2 separate regions of the Homo sapiens genome follow, and region 2 is linked to region 1. Evidence: promoter capture Hi-C in human tissues and cell types (Jung and others, 2019). All regions are on one chromosome and are shown on one strand. The core of a region is centred on a gene start or on the middle of the fragment in contact, and the rest is flanking DNA. Distances in the headings are between cores, read along the strand shown.

Evidence for each region. The method cuts DNA at HindIII sites, captures the fragments that hold promoters and counts their contacts. A contact is called where the count stands out against the background at its distance.
Region 2: a contact is called between a fragment that was not itself captured here and the fragment with the promoter of SYNGR1 in region 1, in 3 of the 25 tissues and cell types used here (heart right ventricle, lymphoblastoid cells and mesendoderm cells).

The regions. Positions count from the first base shown.
Region 1 is chr22:39,347,964-39,351,245 of GRCh38, forward strand. It overlaps SYNGR1 (synaptogyrin 1), which reads left to right and starts at 2,028. Exons shown (of 4, transcript NM_004711.5): 1 at 2,028-2,146. The coding sequence starts at 2,048. RefSeq lists a silencer at 2,075-2,234. The HindIII fragment of the contact is 13,153 bases long and covers 1-3,282 here.
Region 2 is chr22:38,965,178-38,970,133 of GRCh38, forward strand. It overlaps LOC105373033 (a long non-coding RNA gene), which reads right to left and starts at 2,676. Exons shown (of 3, transcript XR_007068099.1): 1 at 1,797-2,676; 2 at 235-483. LOC124905118 (a long non-coding RNA gene) reads right to left here and starts at 4,190. Exons shown (of 3, transcript XR_007068101.1): 1 at 4,063-4,190; 2 at 3,611-3,668; 3 at 2,936-3,422. RefSeq lists an enhancer at 448-1,427. The HindIII fragment of the contact is 5,262 bases long and covers 493-4,956 here.

The DNA of each region.
Region 1 (3,282 bases), core at 778-3,277:
TTTTTTTTTGTATTTTTACTAGAGATGAGGTTTCACCGTGTTAGCCAGGATGGTCTCAATCTCCTGACCTCATGATCTGCCCGTCTCGGCCTCCCAAAGTGCTGGGATTATAGGCGTGAGCCACCGCGGATGCTGGGCATCTTTTTATGTGCTGAGTTGCCGTGTGTATATCTTCTTTGGTGAGGTGTATAACTATTCAAATCTTTTGCCCATTTTTTAAAAAGTGGGTCCTCTTATTATTATTGAGTTCGAACGTTCTTTATTTGGGATGCAAGTTCTTTAGATCTATGCTTTGCAAATATTTTCTCCCAGACTATCGTTTGTCTTTTCATACATTCTTTTAACAATGTCTTTTAAAGAACAGAAGTTCTTAATTTTGATAAAGTCCAGTTTATCAATTGTTTCTTTTATGAATCATGTTCTTCATGATTTTTTTTTTTTTTTTTTTTTTTTGAGACGGAGTCTCGCTCTGTTGCCAGGCTGGAGTGCTGTGGCGCGATCTCGGCTCACTGCAACCTCCACCTCCTGGGTTCAAGTGATTCTCCTGCCTCAGCCTCCCAAGTAGCTGGGACTACAGGAGCTCGCCACCACGCCCGGCTAATTTTTGTATTTTTAGTAGAGACCGGGTTCACCATGTTGGCCAGGATGGTCTCAATCACTTGACCTTGTGATCCATCCACCTTGGCCTCCCAAGGTGCTGGGATTACAGGCGTGAACCACTGCGCCCGGCCTTCTCTTGTGCTTTCTTCTAAAAGTTTTATATAGTCATAGTAGACACCTTATAAGTGTGCTGGATTAAATGTGAAAATGTATGTAAAGCCCTTAGCACAAGGCCTGGTAGAGACTAAACAATCAGCTGAGCCTAAGATGGACATTGACTATGTAATTTTTATAAGGAGCACCCTCAGGCCCAGCACACATTTCCTCCACACAGATGTTGTGTCCTGTCATCACAGAATGGCAGGATACCAGAGAAGCAAAAGCCTCCACCCATATCCTCATCCAACCTGCTCCTGGAACCAGTGAAGGTGACTGCAGACATAGAGAGGCCATAGAGCTACAGGGCAGCAGGAGAGCCAGCCCTGGAAGGTGGCCCTTCCCCTGCAGGGAGCACTCCTCCATCTAGCCTCCGTTTCCATGAAACCTGGAGGTCTAGCCCAAGCTGTGATGGGGTGATGGGGACTAGGCTCTGTTTACTGAGCACCTACTGTATGCTAGGCCCTTGGGTAAGGCATTGAATAAGTTAGACAACACCTGGGCCTCGGGAGCTCACAGACTAGCAGCAGAAGAGGCCATGAACAAATGATTGCGTAATTAATTGCTAGATTCAGGAAAGGGGCAACGTTCTGGGGTAGGAGGGGATGGGGAAGAGGAAGTCTCAGCCGCCGCCTCTGTGCCAGGCCCCTCCAGGCTGGGGGTGGGAGGGTGCGCGGGCACAGGGACACACATGACGTCATCGTAAGAGGCAGGGGAAGGGTGGTCCTGGGAGGTGGGGGCTGCTCTGGAGGGCTGTAAGAGAGGGTCATTCACTCGTGGTTCATTCATTCGAGAAATATTCATGCGGCGCCTACTGCGTACCAAGCACCCTCTAAGAAGGACGAACACAGCTCCTGCCCTCTCATTATATTTGGGGCCGACAAAGTGGCAGGAAACAGCCAAACAAATCAAGCGTGAAGATGGTTTCAGCAGAGCCGACGGCTCAGAGGGGCTGCGACCGGGGCAGGGGACCGGGGATGCGGGGCAGGGACACGGCCCACACTTGCTGTGCACGCACCGCCCTCCCCCAAACACTTTGCAAAGAGGTCACCGCACTGGCTGCGAGCGCGCCCTGAGCCCCGGGCCGCAGCACGCGCGCCCCCGCGCCCGAGGTCGCGCGCTGCCCAGCCCCCCGCCCGCGCCCCGCGAGCTGCGCCCGCCGCGCACGACGCCCCCTCGCGGGAGCCCTGGGCCGCCGGCCGCGCGCGCAGGGGAGGGGGCGGGGGCGCCGCGCACGCGCACGGGCCGGCGGCGCGCGCCGAGCGGGGGGCACCGCGCGGGTGCAGCCACGATGGAAGGGGGTGCGTACGGAGCGGGCAAAGCCGGGGGCGCCTTCGACCCCTACACCCTGGTCCGGCAGCCGCACACCATCCTGCGCGTCGTGTCTTGGGTAAGGACGGACTGGCCGACGGCTCTGCCAGGCCGGGGTGGTGGGGGTGTGAGCAAAGGCGGCGCGCCCGGACCGACCCCGACCCCGACCCCAACGGGCCCCCGGCGGCGGCGCGGCGGCGGGCGAGGAGCTGTCCTGCCTGCGGGGCCCGCTGCCGCCGCTCCTCCTTCCCGGGCCCGGGGCGGGCGGGATCCCTGGTGCTCGCGGGAGACGCCGCTCCGGCTCCCGGAGCCCTGGTTTCCTGGGGCCCCCGGTTCGTGCGCCCCCCTTCCCGCCCCGATTGCTGTGACCTCCAGGCCGCGGCTATGCCGCGAAAGGCTCGGATTGTGCGCGGCCGCCAGGGCGGACTGGGGACCGTGGGGACGGAGCCAGGGTTTAAGGTGGCCTTTTTTGGGGGGTGGATCAGGGCGTGGACCATCTCGGTGGGGTGCATGCCGCGCCTGCGATGGACGTTGGAGGAGGAGAGGGCCGGGAACCGGGTTCGTATTGCCTAGCCCGGCCCGTGTGGAGCGATGAGTCGGGAACTGAGTACCTCTCTTCCACCCGGGAACTGCCTCTCCTTCTCTGCGTGACCTTGGGCTGGGAGCCACCCAGGAAATGTTCTCGAGAAATGAGGACTTCAATTCCGAGGTGGGGAGTGTCATCTCCTCTCTCATGCCTCAGTTTCCCAATTTATAGACAAGGTGGGCGGAGCCTTCTTGAGGCCCCCTTGGGCTCTGACATTTCATGAACCGGTAACACCCCTCCCACTCAGCATGCACCTGGATGCCCAAGGCGGGTGTCTGGGAGAAAGGTCTGCTCCCACAGTGAAGAGGCCAGGGTGGCCTCCAGCCTAGCTGGGGGGCAGGGTCCTCAGTGCAGAGGGCTGAGTGGGCTCTTGTTCAGACGGGTGGTCAGGGAGAGGATGGGTCAGAGACAGTGAGCACAGAGGGAGGGGTTCAGGTGCCTTGAGTGGCACCTCATGGAAAGAAGCCCTGCTGGGGTCTGGAGAGGGGGTTTCTGGGGCTCCCTGGGTTTGGCTGGCTGTATCCCAGAAACTCCCACTCGAGGTTCTGGCCTCTGCAGGCCTGGGGCCCGTTCCTTGTGGGCTTAGACTAGGAATGGGCTAGACTGTCAGGGACCCCAGGGGCTACCCC
Region 2 (4,956 bases), core at 1,874-4,373, 380 kb before region 1:
GTGGCACTGTCAGGGGGCACAGCAATCCCAGGGGAGCGTGCCCTGCTGTTCCAGGTTGTGGCACTTATGGAAGATCCTGGGTCCAGAGGCTGGAGTAAAATCGTTCCCACTCACATCTAACCTACCCTGGGCTGGCTCGTGGGAGTCAAAGGCCCAGACAGTGGCTGGCCCTGTCCATCCTTGGCCAGGGAGGGTCCTGGCCTCCCTCTGCGCTGGGGGGGGAGCCCCACTCACCCTCTCTTCTTTCCTCTCTGGAGGCGCTGCCCTGCTCTCCGGCTTGTACAATTTGCTACTGAGAATTTAACTCCAGACAGTATTTTTGCCCCAATTTGCTGTAAACATTTGAGCCTGAGGCCATGTTTGTCATCAGATGAAGTGGTTTACAGATGTGAAATTGTTGTTTGTAGTCTAACATTTCTGGTTTGTAAACCCATCCGTGATGGGCTCCCAGCCCAACCCGCTGCAGATGAGGCCGCTGAGTTTCTGTTGAGAATGAAGACCGGGTTCCCAATTAGGGCAACTCGTCCCTCACACTGCTCCTTACACCCCCATCTTCCAGATCCCAGCCAAGCCCCCTCCACCCAATACACCCCAGCGTCCTTGCATCCAATTAACATCTCAGAGTGGCCACCTTTGCAGAGACCTGGCTGGGGAGGGAGGTCACAGTAAAGACACAGCCTGGCTCCTGTGGGCCCCCTGGGGACAGCAGCCCTGCACACACACTCTGGGCCTTTCTCTCCCCCTTTCAGCCTTGTCCTTGGATATCCCCCAGGTCACTCTTGCTCAGGACCAAGCAGATTGACTGGGGACAGCAAATGTAACCATAAAAGGGGATTCTACAAGGACTCCCCTCAGGGAGCAGGTGCCAGCGGTGGGGACTGGGGAGTAGATAAGAGGTGGCTGGGAGCTAGGATAAGAGCGACAGCCCAGAGTTCCTGGATCCTGGCTGAGGCTGGGTCCCGGGCCCCAGGACAGTCCTGCAGACCCCAGAATCAGAGACTGAGGAGTCAAAGACAGGCAGGAGACGCCCCTGGGGATGCCCAGCAAAGCACTGTCCCCTGCGTGCAGCTTTCCCGGGTCTCCCCACAGAAAGCTCAGTGAGGGCTGTCGTGGCCACTGGCGACCCAGGCACATTTGCTCCGGTAAGAGGCCATTGCTCTGGGAAGCAGCAGCCACACAGGAAGAGTTGGGGGAGGGCAAGGGCTCTGCCCTCCGAGGGTCCTGCAGGGCACAGGGTCTGCATAGCAGGAACCCCAGACTCTTTGTGCCCCACCCCCACTCTAACTCAGAGCTCTGTGCTAAGGAGAGCCTTATCATGCCCTCGGTGGATTCAGAAGCACTTTGTAGGGCTGAGTGACGAAACATTTGGGGCTGGGAGTAGAGCTGGCTGGGTCAGGACGACACCCCCTCCTGGAAGGGCAGGCCTGTGGGGGGCACAAGCAGGGACAACAGCCCATTCGTGTCTGCTGGTACAGGTGCAGTCTCTGTGCAGGTGGGCAGTGGGTACTGCAGGGCACCATGCTGTGTGTGCCTCGAGTGTGAACTGGGAAAGGTGGTCTCTGGTCAGACTCACACAACACACCAAGATGAGCTCACACCGGAACCACCCGAGACTCAATTGGGAGTTGACAGCCCCCAGGGGATATCCTCTTGACTAGAGAAGTCCAAGGTCTGGAGACAGAATGGGAGGTGGCATCCTCATGGCAGAGAACAGGGCCTCCTCTGGTCTGCCCATGAGGAGTGGTGCCCACCAAGATGGCAGGGACACTGTGCTGAGGAGGGTGGATCACTCCCACCTTCTTCTGAGGTTTCCACCTCAGCGAGCACCGGCCAGGCTGGGAGGGCGAGGAGCTGTGCTTGGTCCGGGTGGCCAGGGTGGGACTGTCCCCAGGATGTGGACTCTCTTGCATGAGACAGCTGGCCAAGGATGGGGGGTCTAAGAGGAGCCAAGACAGGGGAATCAGCAGGACAGGGGGCAGCCCCCAGGCCCACAGGGCCAGTGCATTCTTCGGGCAGCTGTGCTGGGTGCAGTAGGTGGACCTGGGAAAGGATGGCGCCAGACCTGCCGTTGGGACTCAGGGGCTCACTTGGGGCAGGAGCACAGCTTCCCACACATTTCTGCAGGGCTGGAGGTGGGAGAAAGGGCACAGGGTGAGCCTTCTGAGGGCATTTGTGTCCCTGCATCACTCTGCTCACTGGGAGGGCCTGGGCAAGTCTAGGTACCTTTCAGAGCCTCTCGTATCTCCTCTAGAGGAGTAATGGGGATGAAAGCACCCCTTGCTCTAGTTTGCCGTAATTAGATGGACTGACACAAACAAGGGCTCAGCATGTCTGTCTCCTTCCCTTCCCAGGGCCTGGGATCAAGACCCAGGACACACTCTGCTCTCTGCACTGCACGCCCTGCAGGGCCCTGGATGCAGCAGGCATGCCCTGTGCTGGCTATAGTAGGGGACGTAGGGTCGGCTGCTCTGGAGCCTACTCTCTGGGGGCGCTGAGTCTTATTCGAGACCTTTCTCCAGGGTGTGGATACCTGTCCTCCTGCCTGTCCCCTGGCCTCCTGCCTTCCTGGTCCCTGCTGCCCAAAGTGACTGAAGTGTGGCCAAGGCTCGCTTTCCTCATTGTCACTCCACAGCATCCCTGTAGGGCTATTGTCAGAGCAGGGAAATCAAAACCAATGCTTGTGGGAAGACACAGCAGAGAACTTCCTTATTCTGTGACACTGATGTGGGTGGCACAGGGGACCTGAGTTCAGGAAGGGGTGGGGCAGGTCATTGCTGACCCAGCAGCTTGCGGTCACTCTGAAGTGATGTAAGCCTCCTGTGTCCTAAGAGCAACCAGAGGAGGACCACAGGAGCACATGCTGTGACCGTCACAGAAGCAGGAGGACCCTGACCTAGGAACCGTGAAGGGACTAGGACATGATGGCTAATGGCTAACACGGTGCTGACAGCCAGTCCTGCAGCCTCTCGAAGCCTCTGCTCCTGAGCCTCCTCCTCGGGTTCCTTGGTGATGGTCACTTGCCTCCTGCCCTCCAGGGGCTCCTTCTGGTTCCCTTGGGGACTGTCCTCTCCCCTTAACCCTCTCTGGACCTGGCTTCTGCTCTAGGCTCCCAGCCCTGTTCCCAGCCCCAGTCTCTAGTCTGATGCTATCTATTGAGTCTCCTCCTGCTCCTGGGGCAGGTGTGCAGGGGGGCAGCAAATCCCAGGTGATGGCACTGTGCCCAGGGGGCGAAGACGGTTGGAGAGAAGATTCTCCTCACCCACCTTTAGAGTGGCACCCACCATTTCTGGCAAATGCACCATGTCTCCCCTCTGGGCTAAGCTCTTTTCGCGCCCAATCCAACCCTATCTTACCCAATATTGGGAATAGGGAGTTGCTCCCGACACCACCGTGCTACGAGGAAAAGCCATTCTTTCCTTTTCCTGTGAACACACAGAGGGTAAGTGGTAGAGCCCAGATTCACACCGGTGTCTATGCAAAACCATAGGCAGCACTGAGATTTCCCTAAGGCCAGGCTCATTAGGGTTATGTAGGGTGCACAGAGCGGGGCTGGGAGAGGCCTGCAAGGCCCAGTAGGTGCTTCCTGCCCAAGAGTCCTGAGGTGGCCCACCTGGCTAGAGAAGCATGGTCGTTGCTTGTTTGGCAGAACACAGGACTGTTGTGGTATCCTTCATTGCCGTGTTCATGTATATAATTTAAATTAAAATGTAAAATTAAAGAAAAGAAAGAAAGACGTTAGAGCAGCCCCGGTCAGCCCCGGTCCTGGGAGGTATCACCCAGGTTGTGGGCTTTGCACTCCTCTCCCATATGATCACAGCTCCCCTCGGCCCCGGTGGCCCCCCTGCCACGCCGCCTTGAATTTGACAATGCCACATTAGAAGTCTTGGTCTTAATCCTGAATGTTTCTTTTGCCCACCTTCCCTTTCATTCGCCCAGCTGTTTCAACCCCAAAACGCTGCTTCCTCCCCTTCCTCTCACTTCCATATCTAATTAGTAACTCACTCTGGCTGAATTCATCCCCACAATTCACCCCCAATGTACCCTGACTGCCATCACTGTCACCTGTCGCCTGGGATGTCTGACAGTCTCCGGTTCACCAGCTCAGCTCCCATTCCCTTTGCATGCAGCTACTGGAGTGACTTTGTTTTTTTCTTTTTTTAGAGATAAGCTCTGTCTCTGTCACCCAGGCTGGAGTGCTGCAGCGTGATCATATCTCACTGCAGCCTCGAACTCCTGAGCTCAGGCAATCCTCCAATCTCAGCCTCCTGAGTAGCTGGGACAACAGGACCATGCCACCATGCCTGGGGAATTTTTTGTAGAGACAGGGTCTTGCTATGTTGCCCAGGCTGGTCTTCAAACTCCTGGTCTCAAGCAATCCTCCATCCTTGACCTCCCATAGTGCCAGGATTACTGGCATCAGCCACCTGGCCCAGCTCTGGAGTGACTCTTCAAAAGAAAAACCAGGTCATGTCACTGTTTGGTGACATGAAACAACCCCTACCCCAACCACACATGGATATGCACATGTACACATGCATGTAGGCTCACACACCCATGTATGCATGTGCACGTGCATGTGGGCACATGCGGGAGGGTACACCCAGTTGTTGTCTTTTAAAATGAAATCGAGGCCGAGTGCGGTGGCTCACACCTGTAATCCCAGCATTTTGGGAGGCCGAGGCGAGTGGATCGCTTGAGGTCGGGAGTTGGAGACCAGCCTGGCCAACATGGTGAAACTGTGTCTCTATTAAAAATACAAAACTTAGCTGGGCATGGTAGCAGGCGCCTGTAATCCCAGCTACTCAGGAGGCTAAGGCAGGAGACTCGCTTGAAGCTGGGAGGCAGAGGTTGCAGTGAGCCGAGATGGCACCACTGCAATCCAGCCTGGGGGACAGAGCAAGACTCTGTCTCAAAAAAAAAAAAAAAAAAAGAAATTTACATTTTTCCCAATGACCC